6 separate regions of the Homo sapiens genome follow, and regions 2, 3, 4, 5 and 6 are each linked to region 1. The links are contacts of gene promoters, found by promoter capture Hi-C in human tissues and cell types (Jung and others, 2019). All regions are on one chromosome and are shown on one strand. The core of a region is centred on a gene start or on the middle of the fragment in contact, and the rest is flanking DNA. Distances in the headings are between cores, read along the strand shown.

Evidence for each region. Contacts are between HindIII fragments. The study calls those that stand out against the background at their distance.
Region 2: the fragment with the promoter of RCAN3 here is called in contact with the fragment with the promoter of IL22RA1 in region 1 in 2 of the 25 tissues and cell types used here (IMR-90 fibroblasts and heart left ventricle).
Region 3: a contact is called between a fragment that was not itself captured here and the fragment with the promoter of IL22RA1 in region 1, in 1 of the 25 tissues and cell types used here (mesenchymal stem cells).
Region 4: a fragment that was not itself captured here is called in contact with the fragment with the promoter of IL22RA1 in region 1 in 1 of the 25 tissues and cell types used here (adrenal gland).
Region 5: a contact is called between the fragment with the promoter of FUCA1 here and the fragment with the promoter of IL22RA1 in region 1, in 2 of the 25 tissues and cell types used here (IMR-90 fibroblasts and pancreas).
Region 6: a contact is called between a fragment that was not itself captured here and the fragment with the promoter of IL22RA1 in region 1, in 7 of the 25 tissues and cell types used here (IMR-90 fibroblasts, bladder, heart right ventricle and 4 more).

What each region holds. Positions count from the first base shown.
Region 1 is chr1:24,140,985-24,145,902 of GRCh38, forward strand. IL22RA1 (interleukin 22 receptor subunit alpha 1) reads right to left here and starts at 2,156. Exons shown (of 7, transcript NM_021258.4): 1 at 2,056-2,156. The coding sequence starts at 2,098. The HindIII fragment of the contact is 7,521 bases long and covers 1-4,918 here.
Region 2 is chr1:24,500,540-24,505,457 of GRCh38, forward strand. RCAN3 (RCAN family member 3) reads left to right here and starts at 2,297. Exons shown (of 5, transcript NM_013441.4): 1 at 2,297-2,611. It overlaps RCAN3AS (RCAN3 antisense RNA), which reads right to left and starts at 1,843. Exons shown (of 2, transcript NR_144360.1): 1 at 1,809-1,843. RefSeq lists an enhancer at 983-1,082 and silencers at 1,686-1,858, 2,140-2,639, 4,146-4,346. The HindIII fragment of the contact is 6,582 bases long and covers 67-4,918 here.
Region 3 is chr1:23,814,389-23,817,533 of GRCh38, forward strand. It overlaps HMGCL (3-hydroxy-3-methylglutaryl-CoA lyase), which reads right to left. Exons shown (of 9, transcript NM_000191.3): 3 at 3,088-3,145; 4 at 2,287-2,382. Among named protein-coding and RNA genes, the nearest start is that of HMGCL, 9.5 kb to the right of the region's middle. The HindIII fragment of the contact is 3,794 bases long and covers 1-3,145 here.
Region 4 is chr1:24,449,420-24,454,337 of GRCh38, forward strand. It overlaps NIPAL3 (NIPA like domain containing 3), which reads left to right. Exons shown (of 12, transcript NM_020448.5): 6 at 62-207; 7 at 3,989-4,085. Among named protein-coding and RNA genes, the nearest start is that of NIPAL3, 36 kb to the left of the region's middle. The HindIII fragment of the contact is 3,091 bases long and covers 412-3,502 here.
Region 5 is chr1:23,866,299-23,871,216 of GRCh38, forward strand. It overlaps FUCA1 (alpha-L-fucosidase 1), which reads right to left and starts at 1,992. Exons shown (of 8, transcript NM_000147.5): 1 at 1,600-1,992. The coding sequence starts at 1,988. CNR2 (cannabinoid receptor 2) reads right to left here. Exons shown (of 2, transcript NM_001841.3): 2 at 4,217-4,918. RefSeq lists an enhancer at 1-153 and a silencer at 1,404-1,623. The HindIII fragment of the contact is 22,530 bases long and covers 1-4,918 here.
Region 6 is chr1:24,397,185-24,402,102 of GRCh38, forward strand. STPG1 (sperm tail PG-rich repeat containing 1) reads right to left here. Exons shown (of 9, transcript NM_001199013.2): 2 at 4,135-4,272. The coding sequence starts at 4,204. Among named protein-coding and RNA genes, the nearest start is that of STPG1, 14 kb to the right of the region's middle. The HindIII fragment of the contact is 6,357 bases long and covers 1-4,918 here.

The DNA.
Region 1 (4,918 bases), core at 906-3,405:
TCAGGCTTGGCGAGGACCGATGGGGACGGAAGAATGGTCCGACCCCGCTGCACATCCTCTGGCCAACCTCGAAGGCTGCCCTCCTCTCTGAATTTGGGTTCTGGCCCAGCAGCTGCAAAATGTCTTCAGGCTTCCTGGAGTCCCCAGAATGGGGCCTTAGGGATGGCGCGGGGAGGGGTCTACTGCCTCTACGCAAGGTGACGGCTGTGCCGTGGAGCCTTAGGATGTAGCTGACATCTTGTTTGGATGTGAGGCTGGGTGGAATTGGGGTCAGTTCTGGAGGGAGGGGTCCTGGATTCAGGGCTGAGTCTAAAGTTGAGGAAAGGAGTCCAGTCAAGGTCAGACCTGAACAGTGGCTTCTGGTTGGGTGGTGGGTCAGGGCAGAAGGGTGAGGGTGGGCTTTGAGAAGCCAGGCTCCATCAAGGCTTGGGGTAGAGTCTGCAGCGGGAACGGTTGCTGGTTGAGGTCAGTGTTCTGGGTGGGAAATAGAGGGCCCATCTGGGTTGCAAGGAGGCTGGTGGCTGAGGTGGGGGCATGTTGCCAAGGCAAAGGACCCTGGGCTACGTGGAGGTTGGCACCACTTTTCAGGAGGGAACTGCAGTTAGCTTCCTGAAGTGGGGTAAGTGAACCTAGGCCCACTCCTGTCTTTTAGGGATGTCAGGGTCTAACAAGATCTCCCCCTCTTCTCCCACCCTCCTCGCTCCTTTTCCTCCTCAAATCTATCATCCATTCCTCAGCCTGTGTTGCTTCGGCACTTCCCGGGTGAAAGTCTATATTGTGAAATCTGGGGAGACATGTGTTGTGTGGAGCCTGGCAGCCTGGCGGATTTATAAAAGGCAACTTGTTTTTTCACATTCATGTGGAAAAACAATGTTCTGTCAACCAGCTGGGAAGCTAAGGAAAAATACACAAACAAGAAACAATTCCACATGCTCTGGAGTCAGCCTAAGATTGGGGGGGTGAGGGCCCGGTGTGTGCAGCGCGAGGCAGCTGACCCTTGACAATCTCCTAAGGGCTATTTCTTGGGGTCCCCCATCTCAAAGGGCTGGGAGCCTCTAGGATTTCTAACCAGTATGGCTGAGGGTCTAAAGGGACGTGTCTTGGTGCCTCAAGGGGGTGCCTCACATCTTCCTGGAACGCCCAGCTTGATGCTGGGAAGCAGACTGGAGGGGGTCCCACAGAGCTGGAAGCCCTGGAGACGCAGGCAGCCCTGGCGGGACAGTGGCAGAGAAGGTGGGAAGCTCTGCCTTTTCGTGGGCCTCGTCCTGCACTTGAGCAAGGAGGGCCTGGCCGAGGCCATACCTGCTCGCCATCCTCAATCAGGACTATGCTTTGACTTCCTAAGGAAGTTCCCTGAATTTCATGCAATGCACCAGGAGAGCAGAGAGAGAGTCTAGGGTCTCATGTAACGTTCTCCATAATGATGAGCCCCCCACTCCGCTCACTTTATTGGCTTTGAACACTATGCCCTTAAGACCTGTTTCCAAATGAGTCCTGTGTCTTAAGACCTATTAATGTAGCAGACCTGGCCACTCTAGGAGAAAATGCTCTTTCAGATCTATGATAACAAAAGGGGCCAAAGAGGCCCTGCAGGGGCATGGAGGGAGGCAATAGTGAACTCAAGCTTCGTTTCCCCCGGTCCTTCCTCCTCCTCCCCTGTCAGGCCAGTGCCAAGTGAGAGGCAGAGGAAGGATGGTACAAACTGTGCCGACACCGTTTGAGGGACCGAAGGATGTCTGCCTCCTCCAGGCCAATTCTCCATTCACTGAGGTGCAGCGATCCAGCACCCCCAGTTCAGACAGCTGGCTATATCCCTCAAGACCCGAGGGTCCTTTGGGTCCCTGGAAGAACCCAGGGTCTGAGGCACCCTCTCATGCCCCCAGCAAACTAAGCTGGGCATTTGCTTCTCCGTGAACACCCGGCACCCTGCTCAGCCCTAGCAGGGGAGAAACTGAAACTGGCTATGCTCGGGCTGGGGAGGGTGCTGGGGAGATGACCCTGATCGTTGGCCCCTGGGATAAGGGAGGTCTGACCACAGGGTAGATGGGCACTCACCAGCCAGGGATCCCACAGTCAAGATGGTCAGCAGCGTCCTCATCGGGGCTGGCACAGAGCCCTCCCTTGGCCTCTACTCTGCCGTGCACAGAGAGAGGGCTGGGAGTCTTGGCGCCCTGGCAGCTGGCTCCACCCGGGCATGGGGCGGGGAGAAGGGGGTGGGTGGGACCTGTGCCGGTGGGGAGCAGGGGTACAAAGGTGTCCTGGCCCTGTGTGCTCTGGAATTCCAGGTTCTGGGCGGGATCTAAGGGAGTTCCCTTCCGACTTGCAGAAAACAGCAATAGTAACAGGCTGGCTTGTTTATCTGGTCCGGTGGCTGATTCATCCCAAGTGGTTTATCAAGGAGCTGAGGGGCAGAAAAGGCAAGAATAATCCACGATATGCAGCCTTATCAAAAAGCAATTTGGCACTGTGGATCAAAAGCCTACACCACATACATATCTTTTGCTTTAATAATTCTATTCCTAGGGGATTTACCCTGATGAAAATAACTGGACAACAGAGGGGGAAAAAAAAGGTCCCAGAATGTTTCTTGCAGCAAAGGAAAAGCTGTGACTCCTTTGCTTTTCTGGCAGGAGGAGATTGAGGGCACCCGATGCTCCTCCTTGATCCTCCATATCAAGGCAGGTCCCCACGCTTGGGGTGGGCTTGGGAACAGCTCTCCCCTAGAGAGGCCGTTGGGGGTGAGGAAGCCCAGCCGCTCTTACCTTGAGCCTTTGGGTCTAGGATCTGCAAAAGTTTAGAAAAAAAATGGAACTCAAACTTCAGTGATTCTTTCTGCTGTGCTAGAGATGGGGCTGAACTTCATGAATGGGGCTTTGGTTCGGGACGATGAAGATTCAGGCTGCTCTCCCATCATTTTGCCACGTAGGGCAGGATCTGCACATGAGCTTCGTGTGAATGAAGGGACAGGTGTTTAGGAAATGGTTTTCTCCTTCCTGCAGGGCCTGGAGAAGGTAGAAGGGCCCTGGGGCCTGGACTCTGGTCAGGGTGGACACGATTGGAGGGTCCTGCCCCTGGGGAGAGTTTGCCTGGCCCCAAGCACACAAAGGCAAGCGAAATTTTAGCAGGGATCCTGCCAACGGGTTGGGTGTAATGGGCTGTGATATGCTGAGATCGGTGTTTAAGTTTTTCTTTCCTGAATTGTAATTGTTATCAGCCCTGATTGCTAAAGTTTGTTTGACAAAACAGCCAAATCTAAGCTGTGCTTTGGAGGAATTAAGGTAGGGCCCATGCCAGTCATTTCCTGAAACTGCAGGAAACTACATTTTCTAGACTCCTTTATCAACTGCTTTCTGATAGGTTTAGCCCCTGGGGGAAGACTGGGGAGGCAGAGATCAGAGCATTTCTCCCCTCGTTTTCTGTTTGAGTGGCTTCCCCAGCAATGGCCATATCCCTCTGCAGTTCTGGCTCCCTCTGGACAGTCCATCAGCCAGGCAACCCCTTATGTCTTTCTTGTTCCTGTTTGGAGGCCAGCTCCTGGCTCTGGCAACACCTTCTCCCCTCATCTTTCCTTTCAGTTGGTGGGATGGCACAGCTTCCTGCTTTGGGGAAATCTCTGAACTGTCTGTCCTGATTAGTGTCCCAGCTCCTTCATCCTCTGGGTGACGAGCTCCTTTACATTAAAGTCCCTTGGTCTGAAAGACTGGAGAGGTTTCTGTGCTACTGAATGAACCATGATGGATAGAGGGTTTTTGATGACTTTGATGACAAGGCAGTGTGGGGAAGCTACAGCGAGAAAAACAGGTTACAAGGGACGCTTAGGGAGAAGAGCAGGCTTTGGTCCCAAGTGGCTGGCCGAGAGGACAAGACGCAGCCCCAACAGGTCTGTGGAACACGAAAGTGTTCCTTGGGGCCTCTCAGAAGCACTGGAAGAAGGAACTTGATGGAGGAAAAGGGCATCCTGTAGTTTCGAGGGCCTGTGGTTATGTAGGAATTAACGGGAAGGAAGACACCTGGATTGCTAAGGAATGTGGGAACACCCAGACTTCATTTCTAACAGTTTAAGAAAAAAATAGGTGGGGCGTGGTGGCTCATGCCTGTAATCTCGCACTTTGGGAGGCCAAGGTGGGCAGATCACCTGAGATCAGGAGTTCGAGACCAGCCTGGGCAGCATGGCGAAACCCTGTCTCTACTAAAAATACAAAAATTAGCCGGACATGGTGGCGGGCACCTGTAATCCCAGCTGCTCGGGAGGCTGAAGCAGGAGAATTGCTTGAGCCCAGGATGTGGAAGTTGCAGTGAACCGAGACCGCACCATTGCACTCCTGCCTGGGCGACAGAGCGAGACTCCGTCTCAAAAAAAAAAAAAAAAAAAAAAAAAAGGAGAAAAAAATGAAAACAACCTCCATGTCTGACAATAGAGGTTTGGTTAAAAGAATAATGGTATGTCCACCCAAAGCAAGACAAATGCAGCTTCCAAAATAATGCTGGAGAAAAATGTTTCGTGACCTGGTAAAGACTCATCATATTTTTTCAAGTGAAAAGAGGCATAACATAACCTATGTACAGTACCACCCTGGCTAAAACGCACACCTGCACACGCAGAGCAAACTGCGTGTCTTCATGGATATAGATGAAAACACTAGGGGCGTTATCTCTGGGTGGTAGTGGAATTGTAGGTGATTTTTCTTTTCTTCCCTTTGCTTATCTGCATTTCCTAAAGTTAATATAGGAAATACACTAATTTATATTAAGGGAAAGCAAGGTTACTAAACATAACAAATCGGCATTAAAGACAAGCCTTTGTTGGGGCTCTATCCTCCTCCTGGAATGCCATTTCCACTCCCTTAGCCAATTCCCTTTTCCTCGAATCTCACCAAGACAGTTTTCTTCTGCGATATGGCCCTTCTTGATAACTCCA
Region 2 (4,918 bases), core at 1,047-3,546, 360 kb after region 1:
ATGTATTCCATGAAAAAAAGAGAATCTTGAATAATACTGGAAAATGCGAACCCCGTTCCCTGAACCATCATGTAGGATTGCTCACTTCTTCCTCTGCTTTGTCAGCACTTTGCAAATGTCTCAGTGCACAAATACAACTGTATCACAATCACTGTCTCCCCCATCTGTGAGCTCCTCAGGTGGCAGATCTCTATGGACCTTACCCTTGCAAGCCCAACACCCACACAGGGCCTAATACCTCAGGGAAACTAAATTAAGCTAATCTGGTTGTTTGACTTAGGATCTCTCAGGGCCATTTTTTTTGTGTGAACGTGCATCAGACATCTCCAGGCAGGGCTATGGAATGCAGCTGTTTCCAATCTCATTTGATGTGAAAACTCAATTTTTTGGCCAGGTGCAATGGCTCACGCCTATAATCCCAGCACTCTGGGAAGCCAAGGCAGGAGGATTGCTTGAGTTCAGGAGTTTGAGACCAGCCTGGGCAACATTGTGAAACCTTGTCTCTACAAAAAGTAGAAAAATTAGCCAGGCATGGTGGCATGTGCCTGTAGTCCCAACTACTCAGGAGGCTGAGATGGGAGGATCACTTGAGCCTGGATGGTTGAGGCTATGATTGTGCCACTGCACTCCAACCTAGGCAACAGAGCAGACCCATCTCAAAACAAACAAAAAAACACCAAAAAAAAAAAAAAAAACAACCCTCAATTTTTGCAAAAGTTGCTGTGTTAGAGGAATTTAGAGAAAAAATAATTACTATAGTCCTTAGAGTGACCTTGACAAAAGAAGCAGCTTGCCATCAATATTAGTTAAACGAATGAAAGTGAAGAACTTAGTTTAAGACAAGATGGGGAGCAGGAGCAGCACGGTTGGAGGCAGCAGGAACCACAGAAGCAGCAAGCAGGAAGTAGGAGGGGCGATCTGCTGGACATACCTCGGTGACTATGCTGGGCTCAACTGCTGGGGAGCCCTTGGGGTCATAATCCAACCCTGATTTCTTAGTTTACATCTAACAGGGATTAGATGTGCTGTACACATTTTAGTCCATCTTCCTGCCCCATGATGCAGGCGCTGAGTGCCTTTGATGTTAAGCTTCACTGTGCCTCACTTTGCCTCTGAAAGGTCTTGAGTGGGTAATGAGAGCTGATTTTCTTCTAACTGCACATTCCTTTTTTTTTTTTTTTTTGAGACGGAGTCTTGCTATGCTGTCCAGGCTGGTCTCAGACTCCTGGCCTCAACCGATCCTCCCACCTCTGCCTCCTGAGTTAGCTGGGACTACGGGTGCGCACCACTGCGTGACTGCGCGTCCTTGTAGGTGGGAGATGAGCCCAGTTATTTTCCCTGCTGTGTGACCCTGCTTCCTTCTCTGCCGGCTAAGGGAAGAGACACCAGCTGCCTTCCAAGTTGGGCTCAGGAGCTTTGTCATCATAGTTGTTATTGGTGGTAATAATACCTGCCAATGTAAGCCTCGGTCCTATCACTGAAACTCGCTCAACAGCTTAGACCCCGGCTCTTCCCTTTGCGTAATAGTTGTAATCATGTCCCATGGTCTCCTAAGGCGTCGGAGACAAGCAAGACTGCGTGGAAGGGTTTTTACACGAAAAAGAAAGCATTAAACATGTGGATTGTATGACAACGGTAGATAGGGCATAGGGTGAAGAGGAGTAAGAGGAGGAGGGAGAGCGGGAGGAGGGAGAAGAGCACGAGTGGGGAGGAGAGGAGGGGAGGGGATGGGAGGGGAGGGGAAGGAGTGGGTAAGGGGAAGAGGGTTGTACCCGCCAGGGCGGGACCCAGCCTGTGCCGTCCCACACCTTGTGCTAGCTCCAGCTCAGCTACCTGCGGCCGCCTCTCCTCGGGCAATGAGGCGCCGGGAAGCCCACAGCATCTGATAATATCCGGGCCGCCGGTTGCCGGGAGGTGAACCGAGGTAAACTCGCCGCGCGCGGGGCGCAGTGTACATAGTAACCAGCCCTGAGTAAACGTTCGTCATATTCCTATGAGCTGCTCCGGGGACTGTCCTACGGGGCTAGCAGGAAAAGGAGATCGGCTCTCTCCGCTCCCGGTGGAAAACGAGAAGGTCGCCAGAGGTCCTGTTTTCGGGGTGATCTAAAGCCCCCGCCCCAGCGCTACAGCCCAAGCCCCCCACAGGCTGGGGACCAGGAACCCGGAGGAGCGGGAGGAGGGCGCGCGCGGCGAGACACCCCCACCCCGGCCCCCGCGCGCCCCCGCCCCGGTCCCCGCCCGGGTCCCCGCCTTGTCCTGGGCTCTGGCGCCTGCGCCGCCGTGCGCGCGCCCTGCCAGAACAGGAGGGGACGAGGCGGGCGCGCGGCGCCGGCAGCCTAGCTCAGCCGGGACACCGCCCTAGTCCCAGCCCAGGGGGCCGCTCTCGCCGGCGTCGAGGGCGTGGCGGCGAGGCTGCTGCTGCAGGCGGCTCCCGGCTCTGCCTTCGGCCCCGCCCGCCGCCCACCAGGCTCCCAGAGGCCCCGCAGCTCGCGCCGTCCGGCTCCCCGCAGCCCCGTCGGGCAGCCCGGGCCCGTCCGCTGCCCTCCCGGCTCCCGTCCTGCGGCGGCGGGGCGTGCAGGTGAGGCCCCACGGCGCCCGGCCTCTCCAGCAGGTTTGCACCCAGCGCGGGGCGGGGCGGGGCGGGGCGGGTGGGGGGGGTGGTGCATGAAAAGTTAAAAAAAAAAAAAAAAAAAAAAAAGCCGCCCCGAGAAGTCCGGGAGGGGTGGGCACTCCGAGCCGCGGGACCGGGAGATGCTACCGCGCGCGACCTCGCCTCCCGCGACCTCGCCTCCCGCCGCACCCTTCTCGCGCGCGGGGTCTAGTCTGGCAGCCTCGAGGGTGGTGTCCCGGAAAACAAAACAAAAATGTTTTGTCTTCTCCACCAACGATTTTCTCCCACCAAGTGTGTTTGACCTTTTGAAAAGCCGACAGGCCCAGCCTGCCTGTGAAGGCAGGAGCGGTGTAGGGGCGCCTGGAAGGTGGAAGCCCCCTGTCTTTCTCCCTTGCCCCGCTTCCCCCACGGTGCGTGGATCACCATCGCATTAGTGACTCCCTAACTTCTTGAAACTTGTCTGTCTGCTTCTGTCCGCCGCCTGGACAGGTAGGGCAGGAGTGATCTGTTCCAGGTTGATTCTTCTAGCTTCCGTGCAAAATCTGATCATCTCCTTTAGAGATTAGGATTCTAGTGTAGGAAGCAATCCAGATCCGTGTTTCAGATACAAACAAGGATTATTTAAAGTGATGTTTTCCTGTAGTGCTGAAAGCCAAAAATATTCGCTTCCACTTGTTGGAAGCCACCAAGTACACCACATTTATTTGAACTTTTCATAGAAGTCTCTGATGTACTATTTGGCAAAAGAAGCAATTGATTTATCTGTAGCTGTGATTACATACGATGTAAAGTAATTTGTTTTAAGACTATTTCATTGGCTTTGGTTCAATATCTTAAACTCTGTAAACACATAATTCAGGAGCCAGATATGCATCACACAAATGTGTTCTTTTTGGTGGGGATTTAAATTGATCTAGAAATGGGCTTTCCATCCAGGAAGACTGTGAAAAGCTTGAAAACTGAGTCTCTTCTTTAGCCAGGTCATCAGCTTTACATTTTACTGCATTGGCAAGCCTTGCCTTTTCTTTTCTCTTCTCTTCTCTTTTCTTCTTTTTGAGACAAGGCCTCGCTCTGTCATCCAGCTGAAGTGCAGTGGTGCAAACACAGCTCACTGCAGCCTCAACTTCCCAGGATCAAGCGATCCTCCCACCTCTCAGCGTCCTGAGTAGCTGGGACTACAGATGCCGGCTAATTTTTTGTAGAGATTGGGTGTCACTATGTTGCCCAGGCTGTTCTTGAACTCCTGGGCTCAAGCCATCCGCCCACCTCTGCCTCCCAAAGTGCTGAGATTACAGGCATGAGCCACCGCACCCAGCCAAACCTTTTCTCTCTTAGCCTGAAAACAGATTTCAGTGCTTTTCTAGGAAACAAGATTTTTCCTGCTGTTGAAATATAACGTTTGTAAAGGTTTCAAACATGTGAACATTAGGTAACAGACAAGAGCAGATTTTATATGGTGTTAGAGTTGTTGGTTGAAGGACTTAAAGCATGAAAAATAGTGTGACGCGGAAATCCATTAGCCTGAAGCCTGTGAAATAATGGAAGCTCTAAAGTTCAACACCGTTTGTTACTTAGAAAAAAAACACAGAAGGTGGAGGTCGGACAGCAATCTCCACTTTTCCCCTAGAATGTAGAGGTTCTATCCAGGGAAAAGAAATTATACACAGCACAACAAATAGCATCAGTCTTATATATCTCAACTTCAGTTATTCTTTAAAACCTGTTGTTTTCATATGTTTTGTAGGCTGGTTTTTGTTGTTTATTTCTATCTGTCTCTTGCTGACAAATTCCTGGTGGAGTGGAACTTCAATTATAACAGGACCAATTCTAGGTTATCTGTGAAAACAAGACATGGGTCATTGAAACATACAAAATACAAAAATCAAATTTTCACCCGTTTTACTTTACTGTCGCACGAAATTTTTCTTACACACAGCTACTAAAAAATAGTACAGTTCTACCTGTAAGTGGTAAATGAGTAGAGAATAGAAGGTAGGGCTTCGTGATAGCCGTTCAGAACTTCGCATTGACGATCCTAAGTGGCTTTTTGTTGTTGCTTTGTTTTTTTTTTTCTCTTTTTTCTTTTTTTTTTTTTTTTTTTTTCTTTTTTTTGAGATCTCCTTCTGTTGCCCAGGCTGGAGTGCAGTGGTGCAAACACAGCTCACTGCAGCCTTGGCCTCCCAGGCTCAAGTATTCCTCCCACCACAGCCTTCTGAGTAGCTGGGACTACAGGCGTGCACCATGTGTTTTTTTGTAGAGACGGGGTTTTTCCATGTTGCCCGGGCTGGTCTCGAACTCTGGAGCTCT
Region 3 (3,145 bases), core at 646-3,145, 330 kb before region 1:
GAGATGGAGTCTTGCTTTGTTGCCCAGGCTGGAGTGCAGTGGCATGATCTCGGCTCACTGCAACCTCCACCTCCTGGGTTCAAGCGATTCTCCTGCCTCAGCCTCCTGAGTAGCTGGGATTACAGGAGCCCACCACCACGCCCGGCTAATTTTTGTATTTTTAGTAGAGACAGCGTTTCACCATGTTGGTCAGGCTGGTTTCGAACTCCTGACCTTGTGATCCACCCACCTCAGCCTCCCAAAGTGCTGAGATTACAGGTGTCAGCCATCATGCCCGGCCAGCACTTTTCTCTTTAAAGAACACTGACACAGAGTAGCAAAAAATTTCTCTTAAGGTAAATTTTATGTTATGTGAATGTTATGGGTTGAATTGTGTCCTCCTAAAAATATATGTTGAAGGATTAAAACCCAGCACCTCAGAATGTGACCTTATTTGGAAACAGCGTCATTGCAGATATCATTAGTTAAGATGAAGCCATACTGGAATAGGGTGGGCCCCTAATCCCATACGACTGGTGACCTTAAAAAAAGATGGCCAGCCGGGCGCAGTGGCTCACGCTTGTAATCACAGCACTTTGGGAGGCCGAGGCGGGCAGATCATGAGGTCAGGAGATCGAGACCATCCTGGCTAACACAGTGAAACCCCATCTCTACTAAAAATACAAAAAATTAGCCGGTCGTGGTGGCACACGCCTGTAGTCCCAGCTACTCGGGAGGCTGAGGTGGGAGAATCACTTGAACCTGGGAGGTGGAGCTTGCAGTGAGCCGAGATCATGCCACTGTACTCCAGCCTGGGCGACAGAGCAAGACTCTGTCTAAAAAAAACAAAAACAAAAGATGGCCAAGTGAAGACACAGAGACACAGAAAAGGTGGCCCTGGGAAAACGGAGGCAAAGACTGGAGAGATGCATCTACAAGCCAGGCAATGCCAAGGACTGCTGGCCACCACCAGACCCCAGCAGAGAGGCATAGGACAGATTCTCCCAGAGGCCTCAGAAGGAACCAATCCTGCTGACACCTTGATTTGGGACTTCTGGCCTCCAGACTGTGAGAGAATAAATTTCTGTTGTTTTTAAGCCACCCAATTTGTAGTGCTTTCTTTTTTTTTTTCTTTTTTCTTTTTTTGAGACAAAGTCTTGCTCTGTCACCCAGGCTGGAATGCAGTGGCATGATCTTGGCTCACTGCAACCTCCGCCTTCCGGGTTCAAGTGATTCTCCTGCCTCAGCCTCCTGAGTAGCTAGGATTACAGGTACCTGCCACCAAGCCTGGCTAATTTTTTGTATTTTTAGTAGAGACGGGGTTTCATCGTGTTAGCCAGGATGGTCTCGATCTCCTGACCTCATGATCCGCCCGCCCTGGTCTCCCAAAGTGCTAGGATTACAGGCGTGAGCCACCGCGCCCGGCCTGTAGTGCTTTCTTACAGTAGCACTAGGAAACAAACACAGTAATTTCTCTTAATTAAAAAAAAAAAAACTTTGATTTTCCCCAAGGAAACCACCACCACTGCCATCACCACCCTGGAAGTCACTCTTGAGAAAAAGCTTTTTTTTTTTTCTTGCTGTGTCACCCAGGCTGGAAGAGTGCAGCGGTATTATCATGGCTCACTGCAGCCTCGAACTCCTAGTCTCAAGCCATCCTGTGCCTCAGTCTCCCGAGTAGCTAGGACTACAGGTGCATGCCATCACAGCCAGCTAATTGATTTTTTTTTTTTTTTTTGTAGAGACAAGGTCTCCTTATGTTGCTCAGGCTGGTCTCAAGCTTCTGGCCTCAAGCTGTTCTCCGGCCTCAGCCTCCCAAAGTGCTGGGATTATAGGTGTGAGCCACTGTGCCCAGCCAAAAAAAGGTTTTTGCCTAAATACAGAACCAACGCCTCCAAAGATGTTCTTGTCTAAAATTGTAAGAAAGTTGGCAGATGCCAGCAACTACTGTTGAAACTCTTGTGGAGAGTTTGGTTACATTTCTCTAAAGAAGTGGATAATCAAAAGAGCTAACATTTATTAAGCAGTTACCTTTTATCTGGCTCTTGCTAAGCAATGTACATGCATCCTATCTTCTGAAATGCTCACAACTTCAGGTACTATCATTTAGCCCTATTTTATAGGCTTGTCAACTTGTCAAGATCACAGAGCAGTGAGTGGCAGGGCCAGGTTTGCCCCAGGGTCTGGCTGACAGACAAGCTATTCAGATGGACATCCCAGGACAGGGGACTGAGGCGCCAAGACAAGGCAGGGACCAATGCCATCAATCTCATTTCAGGAGCCCCCACCAACAAGCTATCCTCTTACCGCTGCCTCGAAGCCTTTCAAATTTGGGGTCAGGACTGGGTAGTTGATGCCAGGAAACTTCTGAATGCCCTTCAAGACTTCAGTGTGGTCACCCATCTAGGAACCAAGGGAGACATTGCCAAGTCATCACCAAGAGCAGACAGAGAGTTCAGTTAGAGAAAACCTTTTCATCACAAAACCTCTGTTCTCCAGAACTCTTAGCGAGTAATTCCTTCTGCAGAGCTGAGTCTCTCCAATACTTTTACTGTTTGTTTGACTGCTGATGGCTCAGAAGGGCCCTTGGTTTGGCTGAGATCCCAATTTCTCCATATGGCCCATACTGCCAGCTTTACATATGCAGAAACAGCAGGAATACTACTACCAGCCATTTATTGAGAATGTACTCTGGGCCAGGCACTGAGCTCAGCTCTGTGTTAAGCACTCCTTTGTAACAGGATGTTTCTTCTTCACTTAACTATCTTTGTGAAGCAGGAGTTGTCAGTCTTCCTCTTTTACAAACAAAGAAACCACAGACAGGCATAGAGGGTTTTAGACTTTAGGGCTAGAAGAGGTCATCTCTAACACTGAGGAGGGGAAGGCCTTAGCAATGTCACTGAGCAAGTCAGAGCAGAGCCAAGACTGAACCCAAGGCCCTGAATCCTGGGTCATGTTCTTTTGCTGCAACACAGTGCTATGAATCACCTGAGACCTCTCAAAGCCAGGGGCTTGGAAACCTATGTTCTCAACTTCTACTTGCTTCAAAGGCAAATGCAAAACTTTTCATCCCTAGAGAAAGGCCTTTCATTGAGGGCTAGGGCTCACCTGGGGAACCCACTTAGGAGACACAAAGCTGGTGGTTTCTATAACAGAGAGTCCTGCT
Region 4 (4,918 bases), core at 707-3,206, 310 kb after region 1:
CGTGTACTGTATCTTGGGCCTGTTGTTGCAATGAGTCCGTGACAGCCTCTCTTCCCCGCAGGGCGCTACGTCTTGTCCTTTGTTGGCTGCGGTTTGGCTGTCGTGGGTACCTACCTGCTGGTGACATTCGCACCCAACAGTCACGAGAAGATGACAGGCGAGAATGTCACCAGGCACCTCGTGAGCTGGCCTTTCCTTTTGTACATGGTAAGAGAAGCCTCCAGTCGTTCCCCCTGAGATGGCAGGAGGGAGATCAAGTCCTAGAAACCAGAAACGTGAATACCCAGCAATAGGGGATTCCGTGAGTTGCGGCACATTTTACCAGCATGAAAGACCGTGCTTCTGGAGAGTACACAGCTCATGGCGAAATGCTTGTTTCATTTATGTAATATCAAAACTCTACTGGTGGGAGTGTAAATTGGTACAGCCACTTGGGAAAAACATTTGACACTAATTACCAAATTGAATATCCACATATCCTATGGAGGAATTCCACCCCTCATTTTATACTCAACAGAAATGCATACATGTGTTTCTCAAATGACATGTATGAGAATGTTCACAGCAACATTATTTTTTATAACTCCAGGCTGGAGACTCCTCAAGTGCCCCCCAGCAGTAGAATGGATAAATTGTGTTGTATTCACACAGTGGATCACTGTACACAATGAGAACGAATGAACTGCCACTGTGCCCCACACAGTAATATCAAAACCATTATGATGTCAGTTTTATTTTTTAGAGGTGTGTATAGGTATGTGGTCATGTAATATACCTAGGAAGGCCTGGATGGGAAAGCAAATTCCATCAGTAGTTGGCTCTGGGAGATAGTGTTATGACTCAGTTCTTATTTCCTCTTCATCTTTATGAATTGTCCAAAATTTCTACAGTAACCATTTCAAACTTTTATGGTAAGGGGAAGAAAAAGTTAAAACTGTAAACCATTTAAGAATGTTATTTTATTTTTTTTCCCAGTATCACACTGCTGATAGAAGCCCAGGAGACACGGGAAATTTTGTCTCCTAACCCCTCCGCCAGAGCTCAGTCCTCTGCCCCAGTTCTATCCCATTTTAAGTCTATAAATCAACTGATTAAGGAAAACATCTAAAGTATGTGATAAAGCTACTGGTACGTTCTTGTTCCATGCCCTGCGCTGTGCTAAACACATTTTTATGTATCATCTCAGATTCTCTTAACCCTGTAAAGTAAATGTTCTTCCCATTTTATGGGTGAGAAAACCAGGGCTCTGAGAGGTTAGCTGACCTGCTCAGAGTTCATAAAAGCAGGGTTGGATTTGAAGGCCGGGCCCACCTGGCCTCAGGTGCCATCTTCCTTCCCCGTGGCCTGCCGACAAAGGTGTTCACTGTTTTCCTCTGACATAAACAGCCTGGTCTCTGATTGAGTCTAGAGGCCCTGGAACATCCTTTTTCCTCAGATTATCCACAAGGCAGAGGATCACTTCCCCTGAAATGGGGGCTGTGTCATTTCCCAACAGGCAGCCAGCCCCAGCATGTAGTTGGTGACAGAGCAAAAGACCGCCTCCTTGGGCAAAGCGTTACCCCAGAACAGGCCTTTCACTCAGAGGATTGAAGCCCAAGACTTCCTAAGTGCTGTGTGGCCTTAGCCAAGTCGCTTTCCTTCTCTGTTTCCCTCTCTGTAAAGTGGCAAGAATCTCTGGACTTAAAATTGCTATTGGGAGATCCAGGAAGTAGCATTTAAGTCACCCAGAAGGTGGTAGATGCTCAGTGAATGATTCTGTTGTCTTACTTCATCATGACTGGGAGGCAGTGCTGCCAGCTGGAGAGATTTGGCCAAACCAAATTCAGTCAATATTTATTGAGCGTCTGCTGTGTGCTAGACACTATGGTTATAAAAAATAAATGAGACATGCCCACAGTACTCACGGACTGTTGGGAGGCACCACATATGCACAGCCATCTCATGATATAATGTCCAGTGCTATTCCAGTGTTCATTTTAGAATCATGGAGAACGGGCCACATGTGGTGGCTCACACCTATAATCTCAGCACTTTGGGAGGCCGAGGTAGGAGGATTGCTTGAGCCCAGGAACTTGAGACCAGTGTGGGCAATGTGGCAAAACCCCGTCTCTATTTGGAAAAAAAAAAGTAAAAATTAGCCAGGTGTGGTGATGCATGCCTGTATTACCAGCTACTAAGGAGGCTAAGGTGGGAGGATAGCTTTGAGCCCTGGAGGTCAAAGCTGCAGTAAGCCATGATCACAGTACTGCACTCCAGCCTGAGTGACACAGTGAGACCCTGTCTCAAAAAAAGAAAAAGAAAAAAAAAATCATGGAGAATGGCTGAAGAATTGGGACCCCTCAAATGCAGGCACAGTGGTTGGGAATGTTGATGATTGACAGCACATCCACTTGATGAAGTATTCTGCAGCAATTAAAGATAATTATGACAACTTCACAAAACATGAAGATTGTTTATGGTAACTAAAAACAGCCCAGTACAAAATCGTGCATTGACTATAATGACAACTCGTTAAAATATGGATTCACTGGAACAAAGACAAAGAAGAAACGGGGAAATGAAAGCAGCTGTGTTTTATGGTCTCTAATTAGAAGGAATGTTTTAAATGTTTCAAAATGCCCATTAATGTTTCTGGGTTTTTTTTATACTAAATCAGCTTTGATAAGGGGTTTGGGATAGGCAAATGAGACTAAGCTGTTGTCAAAGTTTTCTGCTTTAGTTGCACTGGGCGCTAGGGCTGGCTTAACTTCTTGGGAAAGTGTTAGCAAATATCTGGGCTTTTAAGGGGTAGAAAGGAACAGTTGTTGATGCAAGGAGGGGGAGCTTCTCAAACTCGGACTTGCCATCGTCTAGTGGTAAGTTTCTACTGATAGAGCACCAGACAGTGTGGCCTAGCAGGAAAGTGCATGGGCCTGGGAGCCAGACTGTCCAGGTTTAAATTCCTCTGTGCCACGCCATCGTGGTAGTACCTGCTTCGTAGAGTTATTGTGCTGATTTAGTGAGTTTAACGTAGATAAAATGCTTAGAACACTGCCTGGCGTACAAGGAGACGTCATTTAGTGTAAGCTATGATTATGGGCCCATAAAAAGAATTCTTAACCCTACTCCACAGAGGGTTAACTAAGGTTTAGAGAAGTTAAGTGACTTACCCAAGGCCACACGACTAGTTTAGAGGCAGACCTAAGTTCCAGCCCAGGTCTCCCTGACTCCAAAGGCCTTCCTCATTCTACTCTGTGAAGCTTCACACTGGAAGCTTGGCTGGGAGCACAGGGAGTATATACTCATATTCTTTATTTATGTATTTATTTATTTTTTTGAGATGGAGCCTCGCTCTGTCTCCCAGGATGGAGTGCAGTGGCGTGATCTCAGCAATTCTCCTGCCTCAGCCTCCTGAGTAGCTGGGATTATAGGCAGATGCCACCACGCCCAGCTAATTTTTTTTTTTTTTTTTTTTGTATTTTTAGTAGAGACCGGGTTTCACCATGTTGGCCAGGCTGGTCTCGAACTCCTGACTTCAGGTGATCCACCCGCCTTGGCCTCCCAAAGTGCTAGGGTTACAGGTGTGAGCCACCGTGCCTGGCCTCACATTCTTGACCAAATAGGTTGGTGAACAAGTGTCTCCCTCTTGGACCAACCCATTGTTTTAATGGGGATGCCCATGGAGCAGTGGAGTGGGAAGAAACCATCTCAGCCTGATGCATCTTGGCCCTCCAAGAAAGAGTGGATATGAGAGCAGCACGTCACCCTCAAAGCTTCAGCCTCAGGACAACAGGGAATTCCTTCTCAGTACTAGCCAGGGATTAGAGAGATTCACTCTGTGTTTCCCTTTTCCCCTGAACGTCTAACAGTAGTTTGGGAAATGCTGAATCATAGCTCAGTCATTCCCTTTCAACCCTGTGACTCTGGTGATGGCCCAGCCCACCAGGGTCTCCCGGTCTCGCCTACTTCTGTGGTCCCCACTGACCCCCCTGCTTGCTGCCTTCCACAGCTGGTGGAGATCATTCTGTTCTGCTTGCTGCTCTACTTCTACAAGGAGAAGAACGCCAACAACATTGTCGTGATTCTTCTCTTGGTGGCGTTACTTGGTAAGTTGGCATCTGGATGATTGAGTTTTGCCACCACCAAGAAGCACCAAATGGAAATGTGGGTTTTGTTTGCAGAGCTGTAGCCGCTGGGCACAGAAGTTGCTTGAGACTGGCTGAGGTTGTTCTGTCTCCATCAGTGGCTCTGGGGAGCTGGGTCCCTGCTGACCGGAGGCAAACTCCTGTGCTCCAGGAGCCTCCAATCTAAAGGGAGAAAATAGCACTAAACAACTAGCCAAATTCATAGGTCATGTAAGTTTGGGCAATAACAATTCCAATGAGGAAGAATAAAGTAGAGTGAGGATGAGGTGAGTTAGTTTGTTTCAGAGACGGTAGTAGTAGAGCATGCCCCAGCGATTGAGCCCTGAAAAGATCCATGCAAAACCTATCAGAGCTTAGGGATTCATTCTGATTCAAAGGTAAAACTAGATTTTGTCATCTATTTTTTCTTTTCCTTTTAGAGGGATGGGTGCTGTGGAAGAGATAGCTCCTGAATCAGCTTGAGGCTAGAACTGCATATTAATTTTTCCTTTTTTTTTTTTTTTGAGACAGTCTTGCTCTGTCACCCAGGCTGGAGTGCAGTGGTACAATCTTAGCTCTCTGCAGCCTTGACCTCCTGGCCTCAAGTGATCCCCCTGCCTCGGCCTCCCAAAGTGCCAGGATTACAGGCATGAGGCCCTGTACCTGGCTAGAACTGCATATAATTTTATAGCTAAATAGAGCTGTGGGGAATCCATCCTTCCTGAGGAGAAGCAGACAGAGGCGGAGGAGCAGGCTGGTGTCAGGGCTGGTGAAGCCTGCTACCGCGCTGCTCTTGAGTGGCCTCAGGCTAATGA
Region 5 (4,918 bases), core at 742-3,241, 270 kb before region 1:
AAAACTGTTTCAAAACAACAATAACAACAAAATAGAAAACTTTCTAGAAAACTAAGCTGTTTGGTTTACCAAGCCTACATAAATTGCCTCTCATTTATTATAGAGGTGACAAAAGACCCAATAACTGGGAGAAAAGGCAAGTGTTGAAATAACAACCAAATCACTCAATATTTAATTTGCTTTTATGGCACAAAAATAGGTAATGCACTTTATGGTTCAATCATTGGCCAGAGTAGGGAACTCCAGGATTTGAAGGGCCAGATAGTATTTTAGGCTCTGTGGGAGCACATTCCTCTCTGTAGTGTATTCTTCTTTAAAACATTTTACAACCCTTTAAAAATGTAAAAACCATTCTCACCTCATGGGCCTTAAAAAACTGGCAGAGGACCAATCCCTCTGGCCAGTTTGCAGACCCTGGTGCAGTGGAAACAACCTTGACGTCATGAGACCTGGAGTCTAGGACATTATATTCCTTCCTCTCTTTGGGCCAGTCATCTCATCCATGAAATAAAAGGCATGGAAAGAGGTTATCTCCCAGATTTTAATTTTTCTCACTTGTAAGTTATGGATCCCTAAGGCCCCTAGGAGACAAACACTTCCTCTGCTTAATCAAGTCTTATACTCCCATACATTTAATGGCAAACACTAAATGCCAGTTGTAACTTCTCTTTAGTACAAGTGAATTCAAAGTTCAAGAGAAACGAAAACCCGGAAGATGGCTGAGGAACCAAGGTAAGGATGGAAGACTGCTCTAAGCCAGGGGCTGGGGAAACCTCCCCGCCTCCATTTTTACTCTTCTCCAACCCACTTCTCTCCCAGCAGCCGAATGAATCTTTCTAGAAGCTGATAGTAACCACTCCCTGACTTAACATCTGTCAATACAGGGCTCTCAAGGCTCACTCCTTCAGGACAAGCCCCTGCCTTGACAACTTCATGGGTCGTGGTCTCCCCTTATCCCCACCCCAGCGCTCTCTACTCTGTTCTCTGAACCAGCCACCCCCAAGTTCCAACAGTTCTCAGAGAGAGTCAGACCCTTCCTGGACACTTCCTACGTAAAAGGGATTGAGAGGAGCAAACGAATGACTATCTGTACTGTTGCCCAAATACACTGCACACCAGAACTCCCCTCTCTTTCCCTCTTAGAGACATTAGGGCTCAAAGGGTTGTATCCTTATATAACCCCTTTCTACAACCATAGAAGAGGCTGCAGGGAGGCTGAAGTGACATGTCCAGGTTCACAGTTGAATTAGAACCAGGCTCCACACCACTGATTTGAAACCCTGGAGTCCTGATAGTGCTGTCAATCTGAAAGGGACATCAGGTATGGCCTAACTCAGCCCTCTCGGTGCACAGGTGCAGATACCCAGGGCTTCCCAGCCTGCCATCTCCCTGAACCTTCATTTATCAGTCCCCAGTCAAACGCACCTCCTCCTCCTCATCAGGTGTGCCAGGCTCACTCCTGTGGCCGCAGGAGGCCACACGCGGGCCCCGGGGTCATGGGGGCGACCGGCAGCTGCGCGCCCCAGCTGGCCGCCCAGCCCCACCTCCTGTTTGCCGCCCGAGCCGGGAAGGGGCGCCGCTCCCCGGGACCACACTCACTTGGCGCCCGCGGCCTGGAAGAGGTCGGCCCACTCCTCCGGGTGGAAGAAGCGCGCAGTGAACTGCGGTCCGAAGTCGGCGTAGCTGAAGCCGGGCGGGTAGTTGTCGCGCATGAAGCGCTGGTACTGCGGCCGCCCCTCGCCCTGCCAGTGCCACCAGAACCACTCGCTGCCCCAGGCGGGCACCGAGAACACGCCCCAGTGGATGAACACCCCGAACTTGGCTTCGTCGAACCAGGCCGGCAGCGGCCGAGAATCCAGGCTCGGCCAGTCTGGGGTGTAGCGGCGCGGAGGCTGGGCCCGACGCACCGACTCGGCCGCTCCGAGGAAGAGCAGCAGCAGCAACAGCGCGGGACCCGCCGGCCGCGACCTCATCCCCGGAGCCCGCATCGCTACCCCTCAGCGACGCGGCCCACTCTTAACGCGCAGGTGCCCGCGGGCGGCTCCGCCCACTCTGACTAACGATTGGCCCGGAAGGAAAAAGGGGTGGGACAACCTGGACAGGTTGGCCCGAGTCGCTTCCTCCTCGGGTCGGAGGAGCGCCCTCTGGTGCTCAAGAAGGGAAAGACGCAGGGAGGCGTTGACAGCGCTTCGCTGAAGGACGAATAAAAACCTTGAAAAGGGACTTAACTGCGAGGTTAAATCGTGGAGGTGAGCAAGGCCCAGTGTGTGCGGAGAACTCACATTTAAGAAGGAGTCCATTGAGCCGGACGCAGTGGCTCACGCCTGTAATCCTAACACTTTCGGAAGTCGAGGCGGGAGGATCGCTCTGAGCCCACAAGTTGGAGACTAGCCTGTCTCTATAAAAAATAAACAAAATGAGCCTGGCGTAGTGGTGCACGTCTGGAGTCCCAGCTACTCGAGAGGCTGAGGTGGGAGGTTCGGGATCGCTTGAGCCCGGGAAGTCTGGGCTGCAGTGAACCGAACCGTGATCACGCCTCTGGGAGTAGTCCATTTTGCCGCAGCAATCCTGCAGGGGTAGGCTGAAGTGAGATCACGAGTTTTATTTAGTGATCACTTGGGAGCCATAGGGGGCTTTTGAGTTGTCCTGTAGCACAAGGCTGGAGGAGGAGATAACAGACCGGAAGGGTATCTAACAGCCCTGACAGAAATAAGGAGGTAGAGGGATGATGGGAAGAAACGTTATGAAAGGAGAGGAAAGAGAAAACTGGGTACTGAAAGAGGGAGAGCGGGCAGGACCGTTTCATCTGTCTGGTATTTACTGAGCTTTCTTTGGGAATTCCGAGGCATTTCAAATAGCTTAGTTTGTACCGAGATACCGCCACTGCACTCCAGCCCCTGGGCGACAGAGCCAGACCAAGGAAGAAAGAAAGGAAGGAAGGAAGGAAGGAAGGAGGAAGGAAGGAAGGAAGGAGGAAGTGGAGAGCCAAGAGGACCCAGGATTGCCTGGCAGGGAAGTTCCCCAGTTCCTCTGCAATTTGCACATGCTGCACATACTCAAACGGGAGGTGAGGCCATTAGCGAGGGAAATACGGAAGTCAGAAGTCTCTGAACAGACAAGGTGGCTCACGCCTGTAATCCCAGCACTTTGGGAGGCCGAGGTGGGCAGATCACCTGAGGTCGGGAGTTTGAGACCAGCCTGGCCAACATGGTGAAACCCCATCTCTACTAAAAATACAAAAATTAGCCGGGCATGGGGTGCGCCTGTAATCCCAGCTACTCAGGAGGCTGAGGCAGGAGAATTGCTTGAACTCGGGAGGTGGAGGTTACAGTGAGCCGAGATCGCACCACTGCACTCCAGCCTGGGCGACAGAGTGAGACTCGGTCTCAAAAAAAAAAAAAAAAAAAAAGAAAAAGAAAAGGAAGAAGAAGTCTCATGACTCCACGTAGCACACTCAGTTCCCACATGCCAGTGAGAGAATGGCAGCACATCAGAGTTGGGACTTTGAAGATCCTAGGCACCATCCTCTTCCCTACCCTTCCCATTGTACCGAGGAGGGAACTGAAGCCCAGAGAGGGCTGGGGGGCTGCCCAAGATCATGCAGCTAGTTTGAGTCAGAGGTGGGACTAGAATACGTGTCTCCAGGTGCAAAATCTATGCCTTTGTTCATGCTGCTTCTTTCTTGCACCTCATGAGAAGTCAGAGCCTATGTTGACAGAACCCAGCACTTCCTCACTCTGGCAGTGACAAGGAGAGAAAATGACTATTGCTGAATCACAGCTGTTTTCTTTTCTTTTCTTTTCTTTTTTCTTTTCTTTTCTTTTGAGATGCAGTCTTGCTCTGTCGCCCAGGCTGGAATGCAGTGCTGCAATCTCAGCTCACTGCAACCTCCACCTCCTGGGTTCAAGCCATTCTCCTGCCTCAGCCTCCCGAGTAGCTGGGTTTACAGGTACGCCACCACGCCTGGCTAATTTTTGTATTTTTAATACAGATGGGGTTTCGCCGTGTTGGCCAGGCTGGTCTCGAACTCCTGACCTCAAGTGATCCGCCAGCCTCAGCCTTCCAAAGTGCTGGGATTACAGGCATGAGCCACTGCACCCGGCCTACAGCTATTTTCTTTATCTTCTGTTTCTTTTTCTGCCAGATTATGTTGAAATATTGCCCAAAACAGTAAGCATGAACACCTTAGGAAAAAAACCGAACCCATCCACACACATTTTCTAGTAATCGGTTTGCATAGTGGTCTTTAATGTTACAGAGCTTGTCTTGGGGAAGATAAAATGGGACATTGTGATCTTCAATTTATTTCTCCTTATCCACATAACCAAAATGTGAACCTGCAGGGACAGGTGAGAGGCACTGATGTAGAGTGGACAGAACTGGAAGTTAGGAAACCTAGGTTTGTTGCACTGGACACCATCTCGTTTGTCTCCCTGAGCAAGTCTTGTCCACTGTCTGGGCCCATTTCCTCAACCAAACAACAAGGGCAGTTCTCAGTGATATCTAGGTCCCTTTTGCACCCTTGTTCTCCTCCCTCATAAGCTCTGCTTCTCCACTTAAAGCAGACATAGGGGCTGGGAGTGGTGGCTCACACCTGTAATCCTAGCACTTTGGGAGGCTAAGGTGGGTGGATCACTTGAAGTCAGGAGTTCAAGACCAGCCTGGCCAATATGGTGAAATTCCATCTCTACTAACAATACAAAAATTAGCTGGGCATGGTGGCGGGTACCTGTAATCCCAGCTACATGGGAGGCTAAGGCAGGAGAACTGCTTGAACCCAGGAGGCAGAGGTTGCAGTGAGCCAAGATTGCATGCCACTGCACTCCAACCTGGGTGACAGAGTGAGATTCTATGTCAAAAAAAAAAAAAAAAAAAAAAAAAGCAGAAATACAGTGTGGTTCTAAAAGAAGAGAAGTAG
Region 6 (4,918 bases), core at 867-3,366, 260 kb after region 1:
AAGCAGAAACTGATAAAACTGCGAGAAAAAATAGAAAATTTCACAATTATAGTCAGAGATCTCAAAACATCTCCCTCGATAATTTAAACAAGTAGATAGATCAGTAAAGATATATGAAACCTGAACAAAACTATTACCTAACCTGACCTAATTGGCATTTATAGAACACTCCACCTATCAATTCCATACAAGCTGTCCCAGAAAACTGAAGAGGAAAAGACATTTCCAAACTCATTCAATGAGGCAACCACTACCTGATACCAAAACTATATGGCATCATTACAAGAGGGAAAAAGATCACTAGAGGTCAGCAGCCCTCATAAACATAAATACATAAATCCTTAGAAAAATTTTAGCGAATCAAACCAGACAATATATAAAAAGATAATACATCGTGACCAACCCCAGTAATGCAAAAATAGTTTAATATTTAAAAATCAATATAATTCATCATATTAACGGACTAAAAAAGAAAAACCATACGAGTATCTCAACAGATTAAAAAAATCATATACCTGTAACATGTACTCTTTTTGTCTGGCTTCTTTCACTCAGCATAATTACTATGAGATTCATCTCTGTTGCTGATATATCAATACTCCATTGCTTTTTATTGTTGAGTAATATTCCATTGTATAAAAACATGATGTTTATTCACTGGTGATGTAAATTTGAGTTGTCGCCAGTTTGGGGGCATTACAAATAAAACTGCTATGAGCATTTTATCTACAAGTCTTTAAATGGACATAAGCTTTCATTTTGCGGGGTAAATGCCTAGGAGTGGAATGACTAGATCATATGTTTAACTTTTTAAAAAACTGTCAAACTATTTTTCATAGTCGTTGTACTTTTGCACATCCCCACTATTAGCGTATGAAAATTTCTATGACTTCACATTCTTATCAGCAATGGGAAGTCTTTTTAATCTCAGGCATCCCATTAGGTATGTAATGGTATCTCATTATGGTTTTAATTTGCATTTCCCTAATGACTAATGATGCTAAGCAGTCCTTCATATGCTATTTTCCCTCTGTATATCTTTTTTTTGGTGAAGTAACTGTTTAGTAGATACAGAAAAAGCTTTTCATAAGATCTAATATCCTTTGATGATTAAAAGAAAAACTCTAGCAAACTAGGAATAGGAGCAAACTTTGTTAATCTGATAAAAGGTGTCTATAACAAAAGCCTATAGCAAACAGGATACCAAATTGTGAAATATTAAAGGCTTTCCCTTGAGACAGGGAGTGAAACTAGTACAACTGCTATTATCCTTCTATTCAACGTTGTACTGAAGGTCTCTAGCCAATACAAACGCCTACATAAAATATATTAAAAATACATAAAATATATGGATGAGAAAGGAAGAAATAAAGTTGTCATTTTCACAGATTACAAGATTGTGTATGGGGAAATTGCAAAATAATCTGTGGACACCCTATAAGAGGTAATAGTTGGATTTAGTGAGGTCACCAGAATCAAGGTCAATATACAAAAATCAATTAATTTTTTTGTACAGCAGCAACAAACAATTTAAAATAAAATTTAAAATTACCATTTATAACAGCATAAAAATCAAATGCCTACAATAGATATAATGAAGATATGCAAGACTTCTACATAGAAAACTCCAAAACATTGAGAACAATTTAAGGTAACTTAAATAAAAGGATCTATACATGGATTAGAGAAGTTAATATTTATTGTAAAGATGTAAATTATCCTTAAATTGATTTCTAGAATCAATGCAATCCAAATTAAAATGAGAGTAGAGTTTTTTTAAGACATTAATAAGCTGATTGTAAAATTTGTATAGCTACCCAGATTTGATCATCGCACATTATATTCTTGTATCAAAATATCATGTGTGCACCATAAATATGTACAACTATTATGTATCCATAAAAATTAAAAATAAAAAAGTAAAATAAATTTATATGGAAATGCACTGGGGTCAAGAATAGCCAGCATAAACAAAGAAGTACAAAGTTGAAGGGCTTATGCTACTAAAGAGTTATTATAAAGTTACAGTAATTAGGACAGTATGATATTTGAACAGAATAAATAATCAAGAAGCAGAGCTGCATATGCCTGGACACTTGATTTATGACAAAGGTAGCAACAGCAATACAGAGTAGTAGAGAATGAGCAGCCTTTCAATAAATGGTGCTGGGTCAACATGGAAAACAACAGACTCGGGCATCTTCCTCAATCAAAAACAATTTCAAGTGAATTGTAGATCTAGATGTAAAAGGTAAAATAATAGAGTTTCTAGAAGAAACTATCTTGGGATGGGCAAAGATTTCTTAAGTATTAATAAAATAGACATGTACACTAAACATAAAGAGACTGATAAATTGGGCTATATTAAAATCAAGAGTTTCTGTGTCTTAGCACATTGTTAAGAGAGTGAAAAGGAAAGTCCCAGGATAAGGGATGACATTTACCTACAGCTAACAAATGACTTGTTTCTAGAATAAAGAATCCCTATAAATAAGAAAAGGACAGAATGGTTTAAAGAACTCCTATAAATAAAAAAAAGAAAAGACAAGACAAGACCCAGCAGAAGAAAATGGGCAAAAAAGTTGAACAGTCACTTCTCCAAAGAGAATATCCAAAAGGCCAGTCAACATGAAAAAGTGCTCAATCTCATTGATCTCAGGCAATGCAAATTAAAACTATTATGAGCTTAAAATGTTGGTGAGGATTTGGAGCAGCTGGAATTCACATACATTGCTTGTAAGGAGGTAAAATTGGCACAGCTACTTTGGAAAACTGTTTGGCAATATCAACTAAGCTTACCCTAAACATACCCTATGACCCAGCAGTTCCACTCCTCAGGTATAGACCCATGAAATACATAAATATGTGTCCCACAAGACAAGTACAAGAATAGTTACAGAAGTTTTTATTCATAATAGCCCCAAACTGGAAACAACCTAAATGTCCTTCAGTAGTAGAATAGATAAATAAATTGTGGTGTATTCAAACAAGAGTAATAAAATGAACAAATTACTCATAGATAAGACAAACCAACATGAAGTTAAATCTCTGAAACATAAGCCTGAGAGAAAAGAGCTCATATTGTATGATTCACATTTACATAACATTCAAAAACAAACTAAAGTTATTAATGATATGAGAAGTCAGGATAACCGTAGTGTTTACTTTTGCAGGGAAGGGAGATAATATCTGAGAAGGGACAAGGGCTTTTGAGATGCTGCTGACATTCTGTCTTGGTCTGAGAAGTTATTCCATAGGTGGTGTTTTCTTTGTGAATATTCATTAAGCTATACAATTAGGATTTGTGCACTTTTTCTGAATATATATTTATGCTTCAATTTAAAGAAATGTTAAAGAAAAAGAGAGTGCAAAATCAGAGGATAGGAGGAAGAAAGAGAGATCTCTCTGGATTTGAGAGCAGCAGCGACTCTGGAAGCCCACCAGGGAGGTGGTAACAGCCTCGAAAGAAAAAGCGCTGGAGCCTAGGGGGATCTCAAAATGAGGTTTCCTGTCTCAGCAATAATTCCTAAGCCACACTAACGAACCAGAACACTAGTTGGCGAACACTAGCAAAACCAAAGGGAGCACATGAGCTGGGACACTGGGGATCTCACCAATGTGGATGGTTGACCAATGACCTGAGTATTCCTCCCCACCCCAACCCAGCCTCCTGGGATCACACTAACTATTGGGAAAGTTCTGAACTTGAAACAATCACGAGGGAGATAGGATTTATGCTGATAATGGCTGGAGTTATCCTTTCCAACAACCCAGCAGAATGGGGACTTGCAGTCATAACTCAAGTTGAGTTCTAGGAAATAAAAAAAGATCTCTTACATATCTAAATTTGAGGATAGAGATTCTTACCAGATACATGGAACTAACAAGTCTGGGTTTTGTTTATTAGTTTTTTATTTTTTAACAGACTTCCTCCTTCTTCTCTCATCCTTTCTTCTCAGTTTCTTCCCAATCGTCACACTTGAAACAGTAGGGCCTAAAGCCACCTATTTGGTATGCCTGTAAGGATGGCCCTGTGGATATAACCCAGGACTTACTATTCCCCCCAAATTTGCTCTTATGTACTAAAATAAGCATATGTCAGGAGCTATCTCCTCCCTGCAAAGACACATGTACCTTTCTGTACTTCACTGGCACGTCTGGGATGTTTGCCAGTGCGTTCATTTTTCTGTGCAGAGTTGTCCATGTTAGCAAAATTCTGTGACGTGTTCCATTTGTTTGATGAAAAGTTCTACTGCATGTTCTCCTAAGCACCTGAAACAGCAAAACACAGCATTTGTAGAGATCATTTCACATTGGTTAATTATTGCAAATGGGTTCTGTTCTATCTACAGGGTAAACTGAGAAATGGTGTGGGTGCCGGCTGAGATCTACCAAGTGCAGTGACCCAAAGTCCCAAGCACATTGTGCTGGTGCTGCCTGCAGTAGGAACTGCGTAAGAAGTCACTGTTGATGTTGCTTACAGAACTACTGAAGGCTTGGATTTTATTTTTATTTTTTATTTTTTGATACGGAGTTTTGCTCTTGTCACCCAGGCCGGAGTGTAATGGTGTGATCTTGGCTCACTGCAACCGCTGCCCCTGCCTGGGTTCAAGTGATTCTCCTGCCTTAGCCTCCTCAGTAGCTGGGATTACAGGCGCCCACCATCTGTAATTTGTATTTTTAGCAGAGATGGGGTTTCACTATGTTGGCCAGGCTGGTCTCGAACTCCTGACCTCAGGTAATCTGCCTGCCTCTGCCATCCAAAGTGCTAGGATTACAGGTGTGAGCCACCATGCCTGGCCTATTTTTATTTAAATTTAGCTTTACTGAGACATAATGTATACACAAATAAAATTCATCAGTGTTAGTTGTACAATTCCAAGTTTTGGCAAATGTTTACAGCCAAGTTAAATACCAC